Regions from separate parts of the Homo sapiens genome. Here regions 1 and 2 are each linked to region 3. The links are contacts of gene promoters, found by promoter capture Hi-C in blood cells and fetal thymus (Javierre and others, 2016). All regions are on one chromosome and are shown on one strand. The core of a region is centred on a gene start or on the middle of the fragment in contact, and the rest is flanking DNA. Distances in the headings are between cores, read along the strand shown. Region 1 overlaps SUCLG2-DT (SUCLG2 divergent transcript). Region 2 holds the start of SUCLG2 (succinate-CoA ligase GDP-forming subunit beta). Region 3 holds the start of UBA3 (ubiquitin like modifier activating enzyme 3).

The links. The method cuts DNA at HindIII sites, captures the fragments that hold promoters and counts their contacts. A CHiCAGO score of 5 or more calls a contact.
Region 1: a fragment that was not itself captured here is called in contact with the fragment with the promoter of UBA3 in region 3 in 1 of 17 cell types (non-activated CD4 T cells); the score reaches 5.6 in non-activated CD4 T cells.
Region 2: the fragment with the promoter of SUCLG2 here is called in contact with the fragment with the promoter of UBA3 in region 3 in 2 of 17 cell types (naive B cells and total CD8 T cells); the score reaches 6.7 in naive B cells.

Annotation. Positions count from the first base shown.
Region 1 is chr3:67,669,539-67,674,235 of GRCh38, reverse strand. SUCLG2-DT (SUCLG2 divergent transcript) reads right to left here. Exons shown (of 7, transcript NR_109992.1): 2 at 4,327-4,420; 3 at 3,232-3,407. Among named protein-coding and RNA genes, the nearest start is that of SUCLG2-DT, 17 kb to the right of the region's middle. The HindIII fragment of the contact is 773 bases long and covers 1,938-2,710 here.
Region 2 is chr3:67,651,147-67,656,178 of GRCh38, reverse strand. It overlaps SUCLG2 (succinate-CoA ligase GDP-forming subunit beta), which reads left to right and starts at 1,567. Exons shown (of 11, transcript NM_003848.4): 1 at 1,567-1,676. The coding sequence starts at 1,593. It overlaps SUCLG2-DT (SUCLG2 divergent transcript), which reads right to left and starts at 1,482. Exons shown (of 7, transcript NR_109992.1): 1 at 1,077-1,482. RefSeq lists an enhancer at 1,261-1,760 and a silencer at 1,276-1,955. The HindIII fragment of the contact is 5,512 bases long and covers 1-1,627 here.
Region 3 is chr3:69,077,125-69,081,910 of GRCh38, reverse strand. It overlaps UBA3 (ubiquitin like modifier activating enzyme 3), which reads left to right and starts at 1,546. Exons shown (of 18, transcript NM_003968.4): 1 at 1,546-1,577; 2 at 1,758-1,799; 3 at 3,993-4,113. The coding sequence starts at 1,558. RefSeq lists silencers at 1,438-1,507, 1,628-1,717, 1,838-2,067. The HindIII fragment of the contact is 3,356 bases long and covers 288-3,643 here.

The sequences.
Region 1 (4,697 bases), core at 1,075-3,574, 1.4 Mb after region 3:
TCCCACCAGGCCCTGCCTCCAACACTCAAAATCCCAATTCAACATGAGATTTGGGTGAGAACACAGAGCCAAACCACATCACAATTTGACCTCAATTTTGGTTGTATGCTGTGCTTTGAAATCCTTGAATGAAAAGTTGTTGATGAATTCTGAACAAGTCAGAAACTTTAGACTGAAGTTCATGTTGTATCTATCACTTATTAAAAGAAAAAAGTGATTGTATTATTCAATGTCATTAGGCATTAACAAAGGGAAGAAAAGTATAGAGAATATATTACTCACAAGCAAAATTCTTTCTAAATGGAATCCTTTACAATGTATCCCATGAGGCATCTGTAGGTCTTTAGGGACACAAAACAATTTATTGAAACTTCTGTGCAAATTGAAACTCATATTTGGAGCAATGCATTAAGAATGTACAGATTATTTATTCACGCTCTTCTCTGAAGGAATTGCAGATATCACTTTTATTATACAAATGCTCCTTCAGTGATTACAATCCCTTCTCTCTGACACATGGATGAGAAAGGAATAAATGCAAGTGCATAAAAAATGAAACCTGCTCTGATAGATAAATTGCATATATTCAAGAATGAGGAAAATTGTGTGTGCATGTTATCATATTAAAAAAATAAAATATATTTGGAACTCCTTGAGTTTCCTTCCTCAATAATGAGAGGCACAGAATGAGAATGTTCACTTATAGTAATCTTATCAGCACACCATCAGTGAGGCCAGAATGAATGGTAGACATTACTCTTGCAGAAACATGAATAGGATATCATTTTGATATTACTTCTGCAAACACAGCTAGCAAAGCCAATGTTCATTCTAAATTGCTGGTCAAGGTTTCACAAGAGTCACAACAAATAAAGAAAAAATCCTTGCAATTTAACCAGCTTTTACTGGGAGCTGTAATGTACCCAGTCCTTTCCTGGGCACTATCATAAATATAAGAAAAAGATGTTGACATTTTCCAGTGCTAACAGGTGAGGTTGGGTTAATTCTGTACTCCACAATTCCAAGGGAGCTAGCCTGAGAGTTTTTATAGTGTGTAAAACATAGGGTTGAGGCTGGGCATGGTCGCTCACGCCTGTAATCCCAGCACTTTGGGAGGCCAAGGCGGACAGATCACCTGAGGTCAGGAGTTGGAGACCAGCCTGGCCAACATGGTGAAACCCTGTCTCTACTAAAAATACAAAAATTAGCTGGGTGTGGTGGTGGGTGCCGGTAATCCCAGCTACTTGGGAGGCTGAGGCATGAGAATCTCTTAAACCCAGGAGGCAGAGGTTGCAGTGAGCCAAGATCACACCACTGCACTCCAGCCTGGGTGATAGAGCAAGACTGTCTCAAAAAAACCAAAAAAACAAAAATACAAAACATAGGGTTGGGATTCACTCACTTGGGGGCGCAGGGCACCTGACTTTGCCACATAAAGTGTAAACATGGGTAAATTTCTTAACTTTTCAGACTTCATTTATTCATCAAATAAGAATAAAAATACCCACCTCTTATCTTCATTATGGGGATTGAATGGATTAATGTATATAAAATATTTAACCCAATACGCTATAGACGTGCCATGGTGGTTAACGTCTGTCTTTGGCTTTCCCCCATATTAGCCTCTGAGACAGGGATTTTGGTGCAAGAAGTTTATTTGAGAAGTGATCCCAAGACACAGAGGGAGAAAAACTGAGACATGAGACAGAGAAGGAAGATAATAAAGGGTGATTTATTGAGCAGCTGACTGCTGTGGGTAACAGAACCCAACTCACTGGGGGAACTCAAAACAAAGTAGAACAGCTTTAGAATTACCCCTTCCCAGAAGCAAAGGTGCTAAGGTACTTATCTACCAACTTTCTGTTATTGGTTTAGGATTGATTCCTGGAGCATTAACCTTTCTGCACTTCTAGCCTGCCCTGCATGCTGGCCAAGCTTGCTTCCAAAGACAGAGAAATGACCTTAGGTGGAGAGAATTAAAGGGTTTTCAGTAAGCTGACTACAGAGGCAAGCACTTAGGGGATACAGACAGAGCTTCAACAGGATCTTCATGACTAAGACTTTATTTAACTTCCCCATGACTCCTTAGCCTCTAGGCTCTCACTGCTTTATGAGGCTTCTATAATTCAGGTAAAATCTTTCTAATTGTATTCTTTCCATTTGAAAATGTTAGGCCAACAGGATTTGAATGTATACCATCTGGGTTGAGTGGAGTTAGAGCTTTGAACTCGGACATACAGATTTTATAGAGAGTTGGCTTGCTAGATGATCTCAAAGAGTTCACAACTGAATTGGGGAGACTGTACACACACAAGTGAAAACATGTAAGTCAAATGCAATTTAGAAGTTTAAGGCACTAAAGTCAGCGCAATGGCATTTTCTAAGAGGTAAGACAAAGTTTCATCACTGCAAAATCTGCTGAAATTCTTAACGTTTTTCATCTAGTATCATTTGCCATTTTACTTTGAAATTTCAAGGCATCTGAATAGAGCACACTTAGTGTTGATTTGTTAAAGTGTGAGCTGTTTGGCATGATAGTAAAATGGACTAATTGTTCAGTATAGTAGAGTAAAAACGACCAAATTTTGGATACTGAATTCTTCTGGTTTATTATTTTGAAGAGAAAACAGAGAAGAAAATAGGTTATTTCCCAACTGTGGTATAAATACAGCATCAAAGCTGAAAGTAAGCATATAAAATTGGAGAAGCTTTTCTGAATATGTAAGTTGTGCTAATTAGAGTAGATAAAAATCAACTAATGAGTATCTAACTTTGTGTGCAGATCTGTGCTTAGAAAGATGGTGAAGTAAGAAAAAAAACATAGGCTTTACTGAGTTAAAAAACAGAGATCTAAGCTCTGTTTCTTATTAGCTGAGCAATTAGGTAACTTAGTTTCTCTCTCTGAAGTCTAAATGCATCTTCCCTTAAATGGGCATAATAAGACTTACCTCACAGTAGTGTGAAAAGAATATGACAGATAAATGCAACATGACATGTAAAAGTGTTAGAGGCCATCAACAGGTGAACAGACAAACAAATTGTGGTATGTCTTTACAACAGAATGCTACTCAGCAATAAAAAGGAATGAACGACTGATGCAGAAACCAACATGAATTAATCTCAAAATAAATACAACAGACAAAGGAGAGTATATACTCTAGGATTCTATTTATATAACATTTTAGAAAATACATAATAATCTATAGTGATAGAAAGTATATGAGTGATTACCTGAGGATGGAGGAATACGGAGGAGTGACAGGGCACAGGAAACTTCTGGGGTAAGCGAGATGTTCATTATCTTGATTGTGGTGCCGGCTTCATGGATGTATACATATGTCAAAATTTATCACACTGTGCACATTAAATGTGTGCCATTATTGTATGCAAATTATACTACAATAAAGCTGTTGACAAAACAGTATTAGGTGCGCAGTAAATGCAACTGTCCTTTTCTAAGTGTGTGTTTATCGGACCTTAATGCAACTTGCTTGGGGTCAACTTTGGTAAGTCCAAATCAGCTGAAGCTATACAGATTTTGTCTGCCCATCACTTCTTTCTTCTTCAAAAGAGCAACAGGATAGTCCCTCTTTTGGTAAATCTCTCCTCCCTGGCTCAAAAGCATGGTGCTTATTGGGGTTGCCAATCATAGAGACCCAACATTTTGGACACTTAGGAATAGGTGTGTGCAGGGAACACCATGCAGCCCTTTCAGATCCCCTCTACCAAATGCTGTGTGCCCAGCCCCCAACTACTTCTTCCTTTTGCTGCAAAGTTTGTATCTGCAACCTTCTTCAGAGGATTACCTTGGAGCTAACAGGGCTGCCATGCATATAGAGAGCCAGGGTTTACATCCCACTGACCAAGGCAAGCTGTAACCAATGACTGGCACAATGTTGCTTTTGCCCAGCTCCCTTGCTGTGGAAGGGGACAAATTCTGACATGTAATTTATGCTCTAAGCTCTCTGTGGCCCAAGGCTGGCACTTCATCTGAAATTGCAGCTTTGACCAGGAATTTTCTCTTCTTTATCCTGCCTTCATATACCCTTACCATTTTCTACTAAGAAAATTTCCTTAATAAAACCTCTTGTACCTGAATCTGACTTGAAACGGCATGGCAGCCACCTCTTTGGCCACTGAGATTTCCAGGAATACACCTGGGACTCCGGCTGACCTCATGAGGGTCTTTTAGATATTTTGAGACTTGAGCTAGGGCTATCTTTCCTCTTTGGTCATAATGAAGTATGGATGTGACACTGGAGCTCCTAGGTTCCCCACCTTGAGAAAAAACCTACTTTGAAAGGAATGCTAAACAGAGAAACTCACCAGAGATGAAGTGAGAAACTCCTGGTGATGGTTGGGTCCATGATGCCAGATACCTTTAACAACAGCACTCTTTTTCCTTCTGGGGTTGTTCACGCTGACCAATAAATAAAGCATGTATTTTGAGTCATACTCAAATATTTAAAAAATATTTTTCACACTTTTCAATTGTTTTTAGTAGTTTGAATTGATTTTCTTTGGAATACCAAACTCTCCCCTTGCACAGACTGATGAGATGAAATCACAGTGGGGGAATTTGGAGCCTAATTTGGAGCCTAATGAAAGAATCTTAGGTTTCTTTCATTAAAAATTATACTTTTCCACAAGACACAGACAATAACATAAAAACTCATTGTATCAAGGAAAAGCTGATC
Region 2 (5,032 bases), core at 318-2,817, 1.4 Mb after region 3:
TACTGGGCTTAAAATCCTCCAATAGCTTTGTGTCCGGAATTGGTTCCTTCCCGTGGGTTCTTAATCGTCTCGCTGACTTCCAGAATGAAACTGCAGACCCTCGCGGTAAAGATGGCGTGACCAGAATTTGTTCCTGCAGATGTTCAAATGTATCTGGGGTTTCTTCCTTCCGGTGGGTTCGTGGTCTCGCTGACTTCAGGAGTGAAGCCGCAGACTTCACAGTGAGTGTTACAGCTCTTAAAGGTGGCCCGTCCGGAGTTGTTTGTTCCTGCCTGTGGGTTCGTGGTCTCGCTGACTTCACGAATGAAGCTGCAGACCTTTGCAGTGAGTGTTACAGCCCTCGAAGGTGGGGCATACGGAGTTGTTCATTCCTCCCAGTGGGTTCGCAGTCTCCCTGACCTCAGGAGTGAAACTGCAAACCTTTGTGGTGAGTGTTATAGCTCATAAGGATAGTGCGGACCCAAACAGTGAACAGCAGCAAGAGCTACTGCAAAAAGCAAAAGCACAAAGCAACCACAACCTGGAAGGAGACCCCAACTAGGGGCCACTACTGGCGCCGGTGTCCAGCTTTTATTCCCTTATTTGGCCCCACCCTCATCCTGCTGATTGGTCCATTTTACAGAGTGCCAATTGGTCCATTTTACAGAGTGCTGATTGGTCCCTTTTTAAAGAGTGCTGATTGGTGCATTTACAAACGTTTAGCTAGACACAGAGCGCTGATTGGTGCGTTTTTACAGAGTGCCGATTGGTGTGTTTACAAACCTTTAGCCAGACACAGAGCACTGATTGGTGCATTTACAATCCTTTAGCTAACAGAAAAGTTCTCCAAGTCCCCACCTGATTAGCTAGACACAGAGGGCTGGCTGGTGTATTTACAAACCTTTAGCTAGACACAGAGCGCTGATTGGTGCATTTACAATCATTTAGCTAGACAGAGAAGTTCTCCAAGTCCCCAACCGACCCACCCGGCTTCATCTCTCAGCTTTACATTGATTTTAGGTTAAGGATAGAACAAAACAAAACACCCACAACTCCTTAAGGGATGGAGAGCCTCCAATGGCCTCTCCTTGACTCACCTGAAGCCCTGGGCTGCAGGAACCTCACCTGTCTCTATTCGTTAAAGTCTCAGCTCAAACACCACTGTCCCAGATAGGCCTCGTGACCGCAGGACTAGACCACGGTTCTCTGCGGAGGGCGTCAGCTCCGTGAGCCACCCTTCCAGCACCCACTGCCATGGCGAATATTTGCTTGTTTGGCCATCCAGGGACTGTTTGAGCCCCAAGACCGCAGGGCTCGGGGTCTGTCTTTGCTCAGGACGATAACCTGGGGACTGGACAGTAGGCCCTCAGGCCTTGGGACCGCTCAAAGTGAACCGGGGCCGGGTGGGGGACCCAGGGCTCTGCAGCCTTAAGAACGCCTGTGCCCCCGGGACGCAGGGGTCAGGCCCGGCCCGGCCCAGACCGCCTCTGCCTCCTCCTCCTTTTCCTCCCCGCGCCCGCTTCTCCTCTGACCCCTCCTCCCGCTGCTCCTCCTCCGCCTCCTTCCCCTGCCCGCGCCCGCCCTACTGCCCCGTGCCGAGTTTCCTGTTTAAGATGGCGTCCCCCGTAGCAGCGCAGGCCGGGAAGCTTCTGCGAGCCCTAGCGCTGCGGCCCCGCTTCCTGGCGGCCGGGTCCCAGGTGAGCGTGGGGGCAGGAGCTGCGGGCGCCAGCAGCGGCGCCGGCCTGCCCGGGCTTCCCTCGCCCCCTGCTACTCTTGGTCTCCGCCTGACCCCCTGCGCGGCCCCTCGGGCGCCCCACTTCGGGAGGTGACGCGGCGCCGGGTCCAGGCGCAGCAGGGAACCCCGCTCCAGTGTGGGGCAGGGGCGGCGCGGCGGCAGCCCCGGGTGCCTCGGGGTATGAGCGACCCAACGCACTAGAGTCTCCGCTGTCTGCCCGCGCAGACTCATGGCGAAGGCGCTGAAGCAGGCGCTGGACGCAAGTTTAAGAAAAGTTTCTTGGACCGGGTTTTGGAGCCCTGAGGTTTTATTGTCAGCTCTACTAATTCTGCTTTTCAAACTTCTGGCACTAACCCTGAGCACGTTTAGACCACGTGATAAACATGCCTGGAAACCCGTTTCAGCCCAACTAGGAACTCACCCCCTAGGGTGAACTTCCTGCAGGCTACCTGCTTTTGCAGACTTTTAATGTGCCTGAGTTGGTCAAATCCGTGGGTCAAGGAGAAAAATGGGAAACGATCTTTCTCCTCTTTCCAATGAAAAATCAGGGCTGTCACTAAAACGCATTAGACCATTGACCCTGTCCATGTCCTCCTTGTTGATGGAGAATGAAATCAAAGAGGGTCAGTGGTGGGCTGGATAGCGATTGGAACTTGGCCTCTAGCAGATTTTTACCTTCTGCAGATGGCAAGCGTTAAAATAGTCAGAAGGACTTCAGGAAAGTTTTGAGTTGGTGATGACTCTTGTAGAAATCACTCAACCACTGAACTGGTTAGTCTCCGTAGACTATCTCTCTTCCCTTTTAAAGAAAGCACAGTCTGGGATTCAGCCACAGCAGAGTTAATGACCTTGCCTATTTCCCCATTTTTAATTGATGAGAGGCAAATTATCACTCATACAATTTTAACCAGGATGTGCATAGTATAGTTTTTTAGAAAATTTAAAAAATAGTGATTAATGATTTTTTGAGTTCCTCTAAACTTTGGTTATGACATCTGTGAGCTATTTTTACCCCTCTCCTTTCATTTCCTGCCTCCCCATTTCTCTGTTATTGTTAATGTAAATTTAAAAGGTGCTAATACTTACTACTGTAATATTCTTAATAGGTGCTTGACAGTATAGTGAGGTAGCAAAAGGAATGGCAGTTTTGTCTAATTAAAACTCACTAATAACTGTTGTAATAGAGTAAGGAGAATAGCTCTAGGAGATGAAGTCCTATTCATTATTTAAGTGTTAGAAAAAACAAGAACTAGGGTGCTTACCATGAGTGTAGACTTGAATTGATGAGAAACATGGGGCCCAGGGCAGTGAAAACTCATGAATTGTACAGAGAAACTGAAAATGCAGAGTGTTTAGCTGAAATATGTGAAGCCTACTTCCCTAACCAAGAAATAAGAGGCTGAACGCAACACAGGAGAAAATCTGGTTGGGGAGAGATACTCTTGGTTTGTCAAGAAAACTGGGTAAAAAGATCTGTTAGCACGCCCCATCTGGTTACTGTGATTTACATATTTGTGGATGATGTGTTTTTCTGTAAATTCTTAGAAGGTAAAAGTAGGTTTTTTTAAAGATAGAAAGGTACACAGTGTCCAAGAACTGGAAATGGACATTAGCAATCATTTAGTCCAGCCAGCTCATTTCATGGGTAGAGAAATTGAGGCCTAAAGAAGTTCAATGACATATTCAACGATACAGTGAGAGTTTGTGGCATTCCAGAGTAAAGGCTTACCTTTACGTTTCCGTTACACCATGCTGTTTCCTGGTGAGTATATACTTCCTCATGAAAATATATTATATCAACATGCAAATTAATCTGCATGCCAGTAGTAACTATATAACATCCAAGTCATTAGCACCACTGACACATTTTTATTTTTTTCTTTATGACCATCTTAGAATTGTCCATAAAAATGGTGAGTATTGCTATTTTCAAATTCTTGGGTGCTTCCTATGATCTGTTTCATGTACACTGATTTGATATTACGTTTCCATAGTCCCTTGCCCGTGGCAGACATTGCAGTTAAACATGGCCCACTTCTCTCATCATACTTAAGAATCCTCACCAAGTGTCTCAGAAATCTGTTGCCACTCTTGGCCCAGACCTATTTTATACCACCAGGCCTTGTGAAAAACTGTTGTCTGTACAGAAATAAAAGACCCAGTTTCTGCTTAGAGAAATAACTTTAACTGGTCTCTCAAAGATACCCATAGAATGACATTTTGTCTACCTCCTCCCTATGGTTAAATTTAACATTTGACACATATTCCTGATGCTTAGTGTCATTGAAGTTTTTTTTTTTTTTTCACCTTTGCTGTTAGCTTTACTGTTTTGACTTTTGATTGATAGTACGTCCTTAAAGGGTCCACTTTAGTCATTTCTTATTTTTCATATAGTTTTTATTCAGCCCATACCATTTGGCAGGACTGTTGTAGGCCCTGGGGTTTGGGGATGGTGAATGAGGCAGGCAGAGTCTTTGGCCACGTGATACTTTATTTTAATGGAGGTGGGAGAGAGTGAGCCAGTACACATATAACCAATAATGAAAATGATTTCAGCCAATGACAGATTCTGTGAAGAAAATCAGTCAGGGTCATGGGATGGAGAATGGATTGCTTCACAGCAGGGTAGTTTAGACTGGATGATCAGAGGAGACCTATTTGATATGGTGTGTTTTTGATTGGCATAATTTTTTAAACTGAAATATAAGACATACTGAAAAATGAACAATTACAAATGAACAACTTGATGAATTTTCATAAACTGAATGCAAACCCAGCTAACTAGGTACAGATGAAGAAAACGATCATTTAACAACAACCCAGAGGCCCCCTGGTGCTCCTGCCTGTCACTACCTCCACCCTACAAAGGGTCACCAGTCCCCTGACTTATAACGCTGGTTTTGTTCAGTTTTGTACTTTAGGTGAAATTATATGTAGGCATACACATACTTCACATTGCTCAGCATTATATGTAAGTGATCCTGGAGATGGCCTTTTTGACATATGAGCTGAGACCTGAGCGATGAAAGGTAGCCAGCTAGGTGAGACTAAGGGGAAGAGTGTGTTAGGCAGAGCAGACAGCAAGTGCAAAGACTGAGATGAGAATGAGCTGGGCATGTCTAGGTAATTAGAGGGGGAAAGTGGTAGTAGACTAGGTCTGAGAGGAAGACAAGGGCCAAATCATGTGGAGACCTGCAGGGTCTGCTAAGGAGGTTTCAGGGGTTTAAACCATACAGAGGCTGAATCCCAGTCCTGGCAGCCAAAGCACAGGCATGTAATTAATGTACTGTACACGCCCCCTGTTATAAATCTAAGTTA
Region 3 (4,786 bases), core at 297-2,796:
GCTCACTACCACTAATCAAAGGGTATCCAGTATTGTTGGGGGTTCAGGCTACAGGAGCCCATTTTGATAAGCACTGAGGTTAAATCCTCAGTGAAACCATCTGTGGAGTTGTCTGGGCAAGAAAAAGTAGTTTCATAGTTGACGCTGAGACATGTGATGCAGAAGGAGGCTGGTATCTCTTGATAGGGACTGTGAACTCTATTCCCACGCTCACTGCCTGGCATTGACTTTCAGCTCAGTGAATGCTATTGAACTGAACCTAATTGGGGGACCATAAAGGACAAGCTTTCCTTAAGGTTCACTGAAAACTAGGACAAGAGGAGGTTAAATATCACAGTGTAGTAACAGCAGCTACATTTACTGAGTACCCATCAGGCTTTATGTACTCCATTTCAGTGGCCCTCAAACTTTACCAGTGGAGAATCACCCCAGGCTTTGCAGAAGGCTGAAGGGTGGGGTGGCGGGGGGGCGGTGGGGAGCGTGGTGGGGGCGGTGAGGGGTGAAAATTTGTGTTAAAAAAAACTTCCCAAGTGATGTTGATCAGGAACTGTATTTTGAGAGCCACTCTGGATTTTACTTAATTATCAGTCTTACAAGGTGAATAGTGTTATGCCCACTTTATAAATGAAGAAATAGAAGTGTCTAAGGGTTTCGTAGCTCACAACTGAGAAGAATTTAAAATCAGTTACTTTTGATTCCAAATATCATTCTTGTCCCACTCCATAGAAGGAGATGTGTGTGTACGTGTATATACATACATTTTTGAACATGATCATTTCCCTCTATCCAGCCATCCAGATTCACAGTGTATATTTGTATTTCTGACTCTAGAAGAAAATAATTGAAACTTTTATCACAATTTATCTTTAGGTGATAGGATTATGGGTGTTCTCAGTTATTCTTTGATTTTTGTGATTGTTTTCCTTTATACTTTTTTCTTTGTATCTAAATATACACATTTATCTCAGGAAAAGTTTTAATCATTTTGTTTCCGCTGAACTTATCTAACAGAATGTGACATGAAAATATTAATGCTGATTTGTTCAAAGAAAATAATAATCTCCCACCCCACCAATGTAAACGGATTTAGATAAATTTATTATTCAAGTGAGTACTTATAAAGGCAAAGACTTTGGAACCATCCTGAAAAGCAGAAAGTGAAAATTTCCTTGATCTTTGCCCCCAGAGGAAAGCTCTGGCATACTGGGAGGGTTCTTCACGAATTTTTCATAGAATATACCAATATTTTGTATAATTACGTATTAACATATAGTTTGTGTAAACGCATAATGTATTGTCTACATTTTCACGCTGCAGAGCAACATTATGCACGGTATAAGATTCACCTAATTAAGCGTAGGTAATTAAGATTATAATTACAGGGCAAGACTTTAAAGCCCATGGGAGCCCAGCCGCAGTCAACCTCGCACCTCCCTGCCGGTTGTGTTTCTGGCCTCGCCCCTCCCCGCTTCGCCAGCCCCGCCCCTCCCCGCTTTGCCAGTCCCGCTCCTCCCCGCCCTGCCGCGCGTGGGCACCTGGGAAGAGGCGGAGAACAATATGGCGGATGGCGAGGAGCCGTAAGTACCGGGGCTCTGCAGACGCGCCGGGCTGGGCTGGGTTGTGAGAGAGCGCGGCGGTGGGCGGTTGCCGCCGCCACCCGGGGTCCCCACACCCCCCGCCCCGTCCCCTCGCCCCCCTCCCCTCGCGGCGCCCAGTGTGTAGCGCGATGCTGACCCTTCTTTTATTCTCTCTTTTAGGGAGAAGAAAAGAAGGAGAATAGAGGAGCTGCTGGCTGAGAAGTTAGTGCTGCCGGGAGGCCGGGGCCCTCTCCGGGGACCCCCGCCTCCCCCCACCCCAGGCCTAGGGGACCAGCCGCAGCGGGCCCGGGGGGCTGGGAGGGGGACACCCGGAGCGCAGGCCGCGCTGCCTCATCCCCTGATCCCCGCCCCGCAGCCCCGGGGGCCTGGCGGGCCGCTCCCGGTATCTGCCCGGTGCGGGCGTCGGGGCCAGGCTGTACTGCCCCAGCTCCTGCAGGGGCCCTCCGGGGTGCTTGACGTAAAGGTCTTGAGGAAGGACCCTTGTGCACTCCTCTTCCTCCATCCCAAATTGTCAGAGCAGTGACCCTGTGAAAAGGCAATCTACCTTAAACACACAGGAAAAGGACACAAGACCGTTTTGTGGCCTTTTGCAAACACTGAGACAGTAGTACTAATTGCAAACTTTTAATGATAACTCTACATGTCAGGTATTGTACTAAGCACTCCAGTCATTTTGGCAGAATAATTGGCTCTTAAAAGATCTGGAAAGAGGTTGTTGACTTCAAACAGCCTATTTATCCCTTTTACTACACACCCTATTTCTTATCAGATGCTTAATTCTATGCTGGTGAGACAGATTTAATCGAAGTGTTTTCTAACCTGGCCAGCGCCACATAATTTACTCCCCTCCCTGCCTGGGCAGGGAAAAAATACTCTTGCATTGGTTATGGTGAGTTTGTAAATTTCCGTGCCGATTCCCAGTAGCAGTGCTTTGATCTTTATGTGTGTCCCTCAGTTGAATTTCAGCTGCAAGAGGACCGGGATGACAAACTTAATTTCACATTCTTTCCTGCCTTTTATTTCCCTCCCACTTTTACATGAAATCACAATTAAACATTGCTTACCATATCCCACGTACTGTACTGAGTCTTCTGTGTGATTATCTATATCCTCATGGCTGAAAGAAGTAGCTATGAACGGCCTGCAGATGAGGTTTATGTCTATTAAGTAATCTGCTCAAGGTCACAGTGCTGTTAATTGTGGAACCCAACACAACTCTGACATCAAAACGTATGGTTTTTATTGCTAGGCAATACTTCTTGGTCCCTTTTGTAAAAATTGGATATTACTAATATATTTGACGGTAGAAACTGTGGAGTTATAGGAAATTAGAAAATTAAAAATAATCACAACCAAACGTGAATCTTAACTAAGTATAAAATAGATGAATTTTGTAGAGGAGTCCCACCTTATTCTGTTGTATGTTCTAAAAGGTTTGTAGATGTCTATCTGTGGCGTAATTGTAATCTGAAACTTTGTGTTTAGTGGCAAGAAAAGCCGTCCCACAGCATTAAGAGATTCTTTAAAAAATTAAGACCTCTGCCAGGTTCGGTGGCTCATGCCTGTAATCCCAGCACTTTGGGAGGCCGAGGTGGACGGATTACTTGAGCTCAGGAGTTTCAGACCAGCCTGTGCAACATGGCGAAACCCGTCTCTACTAAAAATACAAAAATTGGCTGGGTATGGTGGCATGTACCTGTAGGCACAGCTACTTGGGAGGCTGAGGCAGGAGAATCACTTGAGCCCAGGAGGGCAAGGCTGCAGTGAGCTGCAGTCACACCACTGCACTCCAGCCTGGGCAACACAGTGAGACTCTGTCACAAAAAAAGAAAAAGAAAAAGAAAAAATAACCTTATTTCTGAGAAAAGTGTGTGAAAATTCCTCTCATCAAAGTGATTTTTAGATTACACCTTTGGAAAGGACACATAAATATTAAATTTGCATCAGACATATAAGCATCAGAATTCTGAAAGTGTGACTTTTTTTCTCTGTTGTATCTCATATTTCCTAATGCAAGTGTGATGAAACAACAGATTGAGGAAGCTTGCAGTGTTTTTTTTGTAAATACCAAATGTAGAGAAGTCAATTTCTCACATAATAGACCAATATCCTAAGTTGAACCTTGGATTGCTTTAGGAAACCAAAAACATGTAGACTGATTTATTTCATCCATTGGGTGAAATAAAAATAGAAACGTGCAGTTCTTAACTTTAAATGAATTGTATAATAGGCAAGAAAAAATTTCAAAGCATAAACATAATCACATTGAATATTTTCCTTTTTATTTGAGCAGGTCTGGTGTGGTTACCTTTTCATTTGGGGATACCATAATAGTTGTAGGTGTGGTTTTTTTCATACTGATCTTTGCAGCTGAATTTACTGTGTTCTGTGCAGAATGGCTGTTGATGGTGGGTGTGGGGACACTGGAGACTGGGAAGGTCGCTGGAACCATGTAAAGAAGTTCCTCGAGCGATCTGGACCCTTCACACACCCTGATTTCGAACCGAGCACTGAAGTGAGAAACGTTTATTTTTAAATAACTGCTCTAATAGTTTTATGTTTCAAAACTAATAGAATGCTTCTTTTTTAATTTGCTCTTACAATGAAAATACTAATAAAATTGTTTTGTGAAACTAAATTTTTCTTAAAATATGAGATTGAATATTCACAACTGATTTTGTTTGAATATTTGAGTCTTAACATTTCTCATGTAATATAAGTTGAAAATTTTTGTGAGAAAAATCTAACTTCATGACCTCATGTAAAAATTTAAAATGCTTTCTGAAACATACTCCCCTTTTGTAGTGCTACTGTGAGAAATTAATTTTGATAGGAGTATAGGTGTGCTTACTTAAATTTTGAAATTTAGTTGGAATGAACATCTTAGCTTTGAGTATAATTAATTGCATGTTAAGAATTATGTAAGTACTAAATAATAGAGGCGTAGAATTTTGGACTGATAGTGTCTATCTTAAGGCAAGTGTTCACTTATATGTCACTTTTTTTTATTACAGGGTAGGGAAAAGTATAGCACATCTTTATGTGCTTTTGTATTTATAAAAAGATAGTATTTTGAAATAGAAATATTGTGTTACTCCCATAAATTAACGTGCAAACTCTTGGTTTGGCCCAGTGTCTCATGTGAATAACTTTCTCCTTTAATGCTGGGCAGAACTGAAAGCATTAAA